Linked DNA regions of Homo sapiens: region 1 is linked to region 2. Evidence: promoter capture Hi-C in 16 types of primary human blood cells and fetal thymus (Javierre and others, 2016). All regions are on one chromosome and are shown on one strand. The core of a region is centred on a gene start or on the middle of the fragment in contact, and the rest is flanking DNA. Distances in the headings are between cores, read along the strand shown. Region 1 overlaps DNAJC11 (DnaJ heat shock protein family (Hsp40) member C11). Region 2 holds the start of VAMP3 (vesicle associated membrane protein 3).

Evidence for each region. Contacts are between HindIII fragments. The CHiCAGO score rates a contact against its expected background, and 5 or more counts as called.
Region 1: a contact is called between a fragment that was not itself captured here and the fragment with the promoter of VAMP3 in region 2, in 1 of 17 cell types (endothelial precursors). The highest score is 6.4, in endothelial precursors.

The regions. Positions count from the first base shown.
Region 1 is chr1:6,677,034-6,681,153 of GRCh38, forward strand. DNAJC11 (DnaJ heat shock protein family (Hsp40) member C11) reads right to left here. Exons shown (of 16, transcript NM_018198.4): 2 at 3,875-4,004; 3 at 1,361-1,434. Among named protein-coding and RNA genes, the nearest start is that of DNAJC11, 23 kb to the right of the region's middle. The HindIII fragment of the contact is 1,332 bases long and covers 821-2,152 here.
Region 2 is chr1:7,769,452-7,773,779 of GRCh38, forward strand. VAMP3 (vesicle associated membrane protein 3) reads left to right here and starts at 1,845. Exons shown (of 5, transcript NM_004781.4): 1 at 1,845-1,934; 2 at 3,991-4,060. The coding sequence starts at 1,933. It overlaps CAMTA1 (calmodulin binding transcription activator 1), which reads left to right. Exons shown (of 23, transcript NM_015215.4): 23 at 1-255. RefSeq lists enhancers at 1,049-1,745, 1,489-1,538 and silencers at 1,772-2,014, 1,979-2,208. The HindIII fragment of the contact is 4,711 bases long and covers 1-3,761 here.

The DNA of each region.
Region 1 (4,120 bases), core at 237-2,736, 1.1 Mb before region 2:
GTAGTGGCGCATGCCTTGTAATCCCAGCTACTCAGGAAGGCTGAGGCAGGAGAATCACTTGTTGCAGTGAGCCAAGATTGCGCCACTGCACTCCAGCCTGGGCAACAAGAGCAAAACTTGGTCTCAAAAAAAAAAAAAAAACAAAAAAAACGAAGGAACTTCAAGGGTAATCTTACATGATGGTGAAAATATAACTCAACGAGGGTCAATTCAATGTTATTAAACAGACTAGCAAAATTTATTGGGCATCAGAACCAAGTTTCTTTCTTTTTTTTGTGAGACAGGGTCTTGCTCTGTTGCCCACGTTAGAGTGTAGTGGCGTGATCATAGCTCACTGCAGCCTCAACCTCCTGTGCTCAAGTGATTCTCCCATCTCAGCCTCCTGAATAGCTGGGAATACAGGTGTGCGCCACCAAGCCCGACTAATTTTTAAAAAAATGTTTTGTAGAGACAGGGTCTTGCTATGTTTCTCAGGCTGGTCTCGAACTCCTGGCCTCATGTGATCCTCCCAGCCTGGCTCCCCAGAGTGTTAGGATTACAGGTGTGAGCCACTTTGCCTGGGTCAGAACAAAGTTTCTTTAATGATACCTATATATCCCTGTAGCAACTTAAGGGTTTCACAACTAATCTTCATATTCATTTTTCAGATAGTAACATGGAAGCACTAGTAGCCCAATGACTTGCCCAAGACTCTACTGCTAGTCAGTGGCAGTGTGAAAGCAAACAAATTGTCTGGATTTTAGTGACTGCTCTCCCACAGCATGGCTGCCCAGGGCGACACATTTGCTATATATTTTGTTTCACTCATCACATTTGACAAAGCTTGAATATTATAATACATGAGAATTGAAAGGGTCATTACAGGCAATGCAACCCCAGCAACTCTGCTTCCATTTTGCTCACGTGCATAACATACTCCCATCTGAAATATTTCCTCACAGCAATTATTCAGAACTGAGGTGGAGAGAGAGGCACAGAACTGTGGAGGGTGGAAGGGAGTGTATATGGAGACAGAACTGCACCCTTGAAGAAATCGTCTCCCATCAACCCCCTGCTCCGCTTGCTCCCGCCCCACACCTGGGTTAAAAATTACTGGTTCGGTCCATCCCTCTTCCGTTTTACTTGACAGGTTAGGGAACGAAGGACAAGTCAGATGAGTGGCTGGCCCAAGTTCAGAGTTACAAAGTGGCAAAGCCAAGTCCAAAACTCAACCTCTAAAACAAAAATACAGGGCAAGGAAGGGGGCTCTAATGGTTTCAAATATTCCCAAAGACAATATTACAGATTGCAGGGTTTTGGGGAGATGTTCTGTAACTGTTTAATGACTTTTCTGGAACACCAGACGCACAGTTTCTCTTACCTCCCATCCTTCCATTTCCAGTCCTCTCTTCCCATATATATCATAGATGGCCCTGGTTTGGGGGTCACTAAGCACTGCAAATTAAAAATTAAACATGTTTATAAAATACAAAATTCACCTTCAGTCCTTCCTGAGAATACTGACATCATTAGGTAAGCCCATCTCCTGTTCTCCCTGTCTGATCACAATCTTCCTAGAGACCCCTTTCATTTTCTACACATCTTTCCTCCCAACTGCTTTTTCGATTCAACCTAGGATTTGTTTATTGACTTATTGACTGACAGGGTCCTTCTCTGTTGTCCTGGCTGGAGTGCAATGGTAAGATCATAGCTCACTGCAGCCTTGAATTCCTGGGCTTAACTAATCCTCCTGCTCTAGCTTCCCAAGCAGCTGGGATTACAGGTGTGTGCCACCATGCCCAGCTAATTTATTTTTTGTAGAGATGGGGTCTCACTATGTTGCCTAGGCTGATCTCGAATTCCTGGCCTTAAATGATTCTCTTGCCTTGGCCTTGCAAAGTGTTGGGATTACAGGTGTGAGCCACTGCACCCAGCTAATGTAGGATATGTTTAAAGGCGGCTACAAATGAGAAAAGTCAGATTTTCCAGTGTCCAAGTTACTCTTGATTGGAAGGTACAGCTACAAGGTGTACAAGGTGCACCATGCAGGAAGTGGCACGGGCTCCTGCATTGGGAAAGGACATGAACGTTGTTTTTAAGATAATTTGGTAAATTTCTGCCACGGTGTATAAAAGTACACTGACTTGAAAGAGTGGGTTCCAGTTTCTAAAGAAGCTTGCTATAAAAGTAGAAACAGGCTCAGATACTAGAAAAAGCTGATTTGTTATTTACTCTATAGAGTTCTGTTAACTCCAAAGACAGGCTACATTTCTTTTGTGCACTTCTCCTCTCTATTTGTAAATAATTTTAAAAGACAAAAACATCTCTTATCATGTTGTTGGCCACATCACCCAAAATACATCAGAAAAGGATTTCTCAGCTAACGGTGAGGGCTGTTCAAACGATATCCCAACTGAACGATATCCCAACTGAACTCAAATGTCAGCAAGGCCAATGGTTGTTCTCTTCCCCCTCTGCTTCACCAATTTCTGCCAAGACCTTTGGGTCTCTTCTCCCCTGACAGTTCCCATATATTTGTAGGCCTAATTTAAAAACCACATAAATGATACTATGCATAATCAAATCTAACGGGAAAGGAAGAAATGCTGGCCCCTGGAAAACACAGGAGCCAAACTTGTGTTCCTCTCCAGCATTTAATAAGGAATTATTCATTCACTATTTTACCTGAGTCTCCCTTTAAGCTAAACATGAGGCCAGGTCTGCTGTTGTGGCACTTTCACTAGCACTGGTAGGGTTTTTCTTTAACTCTTCCCCAGGTCTCCAACACAATACAAGCAAACTATGTGGCTAATTTAGACAACAGTAAAATTAATGCACCCATTTAGATAACAGAATACAATAAAAAGAACAGGCTACTCTTCACAACCGCCATGCAAATGATCTGAATACAGTTAAATTTGGTAATGACACTACACCGACTGTACACATTTATCACACACTGCAGCCTGATTTTCACTGGCCATTAAAATCTAACTTTTTGGTAAAACTATAAAGTGAAAAACACTACAAGCTATTATGTATACAGTGAGATGACTTTATGATTTTATAAAGAAACATATTATCTAATTTTTGGTCTAAGGAGCAAATCACCAGATGGTTCTGGAACAAATAACTTATTGTAGTTGATGTATATAACAGTGATTTAACATTTTTTTTAATTTAAATTTTAAAAATGGTGGTAAAATATACATATAATATTTACCATTTTAACCATTTTAAAGTATACAATTCAATAGCATGAAGTACATTTACAATGTTGTGTAACCATCATCACTCTCTATTTCCAGAACTTTTTGCCATCCCAGACAGAAGCTCTGTATCTGGTAGTGACTTTAATATTTTATAAACAAATATATCACAGAATGTTCTTTCTGACATACATAAGACATAAGTATAAAAATGTGAATCACTTGGTTCTATTTCCTATAAGCCTTCTTAACATCATTTTCTTTCTTTTATTACAACCGATAACTGCTTCAGAACCAATAAAATCACTTTTGGATGAAAAAATGTCCTTGTATCTTCTAACAAAAAAGAGAACAAAGAAACCTTCCCTGTAACGATCAGCCTTTTACCTATAAGAGTTCCCTTTAGAAGAAAACTGGTAAACGATTTAAAACTTGAGTATTCCCTTGCAATTGAGACTCTGTCTATTACCTCGCCCGGTCTCTCATTTTCTACTTACTGGACACGTATTGATTTCCAAAGCAAAATACTATTCTTTCAAAGGACCCTGTCAGTGAAAAGTACTAAACTAACCACCTGTTTTATATACCTCTAAGGACTCTCTTTTTCTATCCTCTACAAATCGCACCTCCTAAAAATCGAATATCTGTTACCAGGATGTTTCTACAAAGTCCGGCCCTCCACTGACCTTCATAAGCCTGGTGAACAAGGTTAAACAGTCGTTCCGCCTGTGACTTGAGCTCTGGGTCTCTGTGCTTGTCTGGATGGTAGAGCATACAGAGCCTCCGGTAGGCAGCTTTCAGCTCTTCAGAAGAGGCCTAAAGAAAGAAAAATTCAATTAGAGAACAATCAATGCTACTTAAACATTATCATCATCAGAATCAGCCTTGAAATGGGAACCCATCAGCCACGTCCCAATGTGTTTGCTCTCGAC
Region 2 (4,328 bases), core at 595-3,094:
CCACACAGTAGTTGGCGCCCAATGGGGGGTCCCTGAGACTTGCATGTAAAACTAGTCTAGATGTCTTCTTTTTTTGTAAGTTTTATTTTTGTAATTGTGCATGTAAAGCATCATTGAATCAATGGATCTGTTGAAGAACTCAGCTGCTGGAAACCATGCAAAATGTTTTGAATTGCCCTTAAAATATGGAAAATGTTTTCTGAATGCTTTATATTCTTTCTGCTGTAAATTAAAAATGAAGAAAATTTCCCCATACTACGTGTGTGTTTTGCTTTAATATGACCGGGTAGTGAAATCTAAGGTGATGGGCACATGTTTCAAAACATATGTAATAATGTCAAGGATTTCCTTCTGATCCAGATGTAATGTTTTGACATTGAATGTTACATTGTTTCAGCTAGGTCCATGAAAGAAAAAATGTCTTCCAGCCACCATTCAGAGAGCTTTTCCCCTATCTTTCCAGGCACCTCTCAACATGTCAATCATTTGTGTAAGGCAGTGCAATTATTTGAAAGATAAAGACATTAATTTAATTCACCTTTTCAGTTACAATCCTCTAAAGTCTTCTAAAAGGCATTTTCCAGCAGATTACGAACGTCGTCCTTTCTGAGTATTGTGTCATCGCCGCTCCCTTCCCGTTCACTGCAGAGCCTCTCCTTATCTCCCTAGTGCTCCCTCTTCCATCTAATCCATCTGGCCACTACTGCCAGAGAAATTTTGCATCATGGATCTCCCACGTCCGTAAGTCAATGGTTTCCAGGGCCCACTACAATTAAATGACATTTTTCTTGTTTGTTTATCCTCTTTATTCAGTCTTCTTTTCACTTGTACCCAACCTGCACCCTCTAGGTGGTCTGTGCACACTGCGTCCATTTTCACTGCTGTCTTTGTTCATGGTGTTTGCCCAACCCTTACTTGGAAAGTTCTTTTCCACTAGTACCCAGCTCAAATCCCACCGCCTTTGTGACACTCGTTTATTCGATATATACTAACGTTTCCCTTTTCAAAGTATTCTATTTAGAGTTGGAAAAAACAGCATAGTATTTAAGTACTGTATTTTTCACTTCTCATCTAAGAGACCCACCAATGACCTATTAGTGTTTTATTTTTTGGTGTAGGTAACTATGTTGGTAGGAATATTTCAGTAACAAATATATACAAGGTAACTCACTGCGTTCAGATTTGTGCTTCCCTCCCTTCGACCAAAACCTGAGGACCTATTCTGTGCTAGGGCCTGAAAATACAGAAATAAAGGAACTACAGCCTTGATGCCAAGGCTCTCGTAAGCAGATTATAATATGATCTGCAGTGACAAATATTTGTGTCACCGATGAAAACATGAGCGGGAACCTCACCCAACACCATGTGACAAATACCCGAAATGGACTTCCTATTTCAACTACTTTAGAGAAACATGGTGCCCTCAGGATCACTAGGTTACTCTGGAACACTCAGCAGAAGCCAGTCATCTGTCTCTAATACTGTTAGAAATGGTCCCGAGCCCAGAATAACATGAATTGCCCCCACCCTCACTTATCCACGCAGTCCCTCGCCAGTGGCTAATGCACCACGTTTACAGACCACGTCCCCAAGCGCCAGCGCGGACGGCGGTGCGGACAGGGAGCTGTATTGACCTGCGTTCTGCGTTTCAGAGCCCGGACCGCCCTGGGACCCCTGTGGCCCTCAAGTTCCCAAGTGACCTCGTCCGGGGAGGGGACGTCTCGCTCTGACCCCGCCCTGGACGCACCCACCCACGACGCCCCCGCCCACTTCCGGCGCGCCCCCTCTTCGCCCCGCCCACTCCCCCGGCTCCGCCTAGTGACGTCTTTGCCCCGCGCCGCGCCGTCCCACCCATCTCCCTGGCCTCCGGTCCCAACTTCGCTTCTCTGCTGACCCTCTCTCGTCGCCGCTGCCGCCGCCGCAGCTGCCAAAATGTGAGTGACGCTACGCGACGCGGGCGGCTTCGGGCCCCGCAGGCGGCAGCTCGCGCTGGGACCGCCATACTGCCCAGTTGCCGCCGGCCGCCACTCGGACGCAGGCCGGGGCTGCGCGGGGATCCCGAGGCCTGGGGGTGGGCGGTGGCCCTTGGGTCGCGGGCTGCAGACGGGCCGGGCGGGTCCCGCGGCCATCGGGCGGACGCGGAAGGGGCAAGGGCGGGGCGGCGAGACGCTTCCCGGAGGAAGTGAGCTGCCCGCCCGCAGCCCGCTCCTCGCCCCTTCCCTTTCTAGTCCCCGACGTCCCTGAGAGGAATGGGGACGACAGCCCTGGTTCGGGAGCGCCCGCTCTCGGCCCGGTGCTGCGCTGGGCCCCAGAAGTTGCGAAAGAAAGGACCTCGGCCCTGTCCTGAGCCCCTGTGGGCCGAAGAGCTCCTTGCCTAGCTAGGGGCATCTGCACTGGAAAGATCACTTAACCGTGGGCCTTCGCTCTCTTAAGCGAAAGCACGTTGCAAACCCCTGCTTCCAGTGGTAAGACTCAGAGAATGCTAATGGTTAAGAATCACAAGGACTCCCTCTTCCACCTCCATTCTGCTCATTGCTCACCGTCGGAGGAAGCCCCGGGTTTCTTCCAGGAGCTGGGGACCCCCCTCGAATGTTCCTGCTGAGGCTGCTGTGCCAATAGATCACAGTGGTTAAGATCTAGAGCCAAGGTACACAGGACCTGATCTAAAAACAAGCTGTCCTGCAGCCAGCTGTGTTGACTCTCTAAACCTCACTTTACTCATTTGTAAAATAGGAGTAATATTCCCCTCAGAGAGTTATGAGGGTTAAAGGAGGAAAAGCATGGAAAGAGTCTAGCGCCACGGCATGGTCCTTACTTATCTACCAGATACTAAACTCCGTGAGGACGGTGATGAGATCTGTTGTAGCCCTGGTCATTGACACATGACAGATGTAAAGTGACTGTTCAAACAGCCCATCAGACTGTTGTATACCAAGGCACATGCTAGGTGCTATCTAGGATACAGAGAAGAGAGTAAGAAGACCCAGGAACCTGTGATCTATTCGAGGAGGCGGGACTTTATACCTGAAAAACCAAAGTGATACTTTCCAAGTAATGGAGCCAATAATGACTTCAGAGTCAGAGTGGTTAAGAAAGATCTGCATGGGGAGAAATAAAGCCTTTGATGAAGATTTTAAAAGATGAGTACCTTCCTGGGCCGGGCGCGGTGGCTCATGCCTGTAATCCCAGCACTTTGGGAGGCCGAGGTGGACGGATCACTTGAGGTCAGGAGTTCGAGACCAGCTTGACCAACATGGTGAAACCCCGTCTCTACTAAAAAATACAAAATTAGCCGGGCGTGGTGGCACATGCCTGTAATCCCAGCTGCTTGGGAGACTGAGGCAAGAGAATTGCTTGGACCCAGGAAGCGGAGGTTACAGTGAGCCGAGATCGCGCCATTGCACTCCAGCCCGGGCAACAGGAGCGAAACTCCGTCTCTCAAAAGAGGGGGAAAAAGAAAGAGTACCTTCCTAAAAGAGGAGGCATTTCTTCAACACACCTTTCCACTCACACCACCCACTCCCTGCATCCCAGTGTTCCTGACTCTGTTTCTGTAAATTAATCTATTTTTCCATATTGGAAAAAGGGCATTCTGTAACTGTTTGTAACTATGAAAACAGTTCCTTCCACAATGAAAAGATCAGGAAAGTACTGAGTACATTCAAGCAGATGTGTGCCTTAGAACAAGTTTCAAAAAAGGACAGTAGAGCTTACCTATCGTGGGATCAGATACTTCAGGGATACAAAGTAGGTCCTATTAAAGCTTAACATTTGTCCCTTTAGTAGGTGGGACAGTCTTGGAAATTATAGAGAAATTAGAAGAAATGCAATTAAAACTTTCGTTCATTGCTTCAGGAAGAATTTCTTTTTCTGTTTTAGTTCTAATGTAAGAGATTGTTAACAGTGAGAGTCCCGGAGTAACATCTTTATACTTAAGAAAATGTATTTGGAATCGTAATGTACTCATGCTCATGCCTTTACATGTTCCAGGTCTACAGGTCCAACTGCTGCCACTGGCAGTAATCGAAGACTTCAGCAGACACAAAATCAAGTAGATGAGGTATTGCTCTGAAATGTTGGAAATATGAATTTTAAACAAATATGAGTACTCTGGAAATCTGTTTAGAAAAAGTATCATCAAAGTGTGAATGTAAAGCAAATTCTGACTGTATCATAATTGTAACGAAACTTTGCTCCCTGCTGTGCTGGAAGATCTAATCTAAGCAAAAGTCAGACTTTCTAGGTTTCACGCTTGTTTTCCTGTGATAGAAACCTGCTCATAACATTTAGCTCAGGAGAAATAAAAAATCATATGCCTAAAACATGAA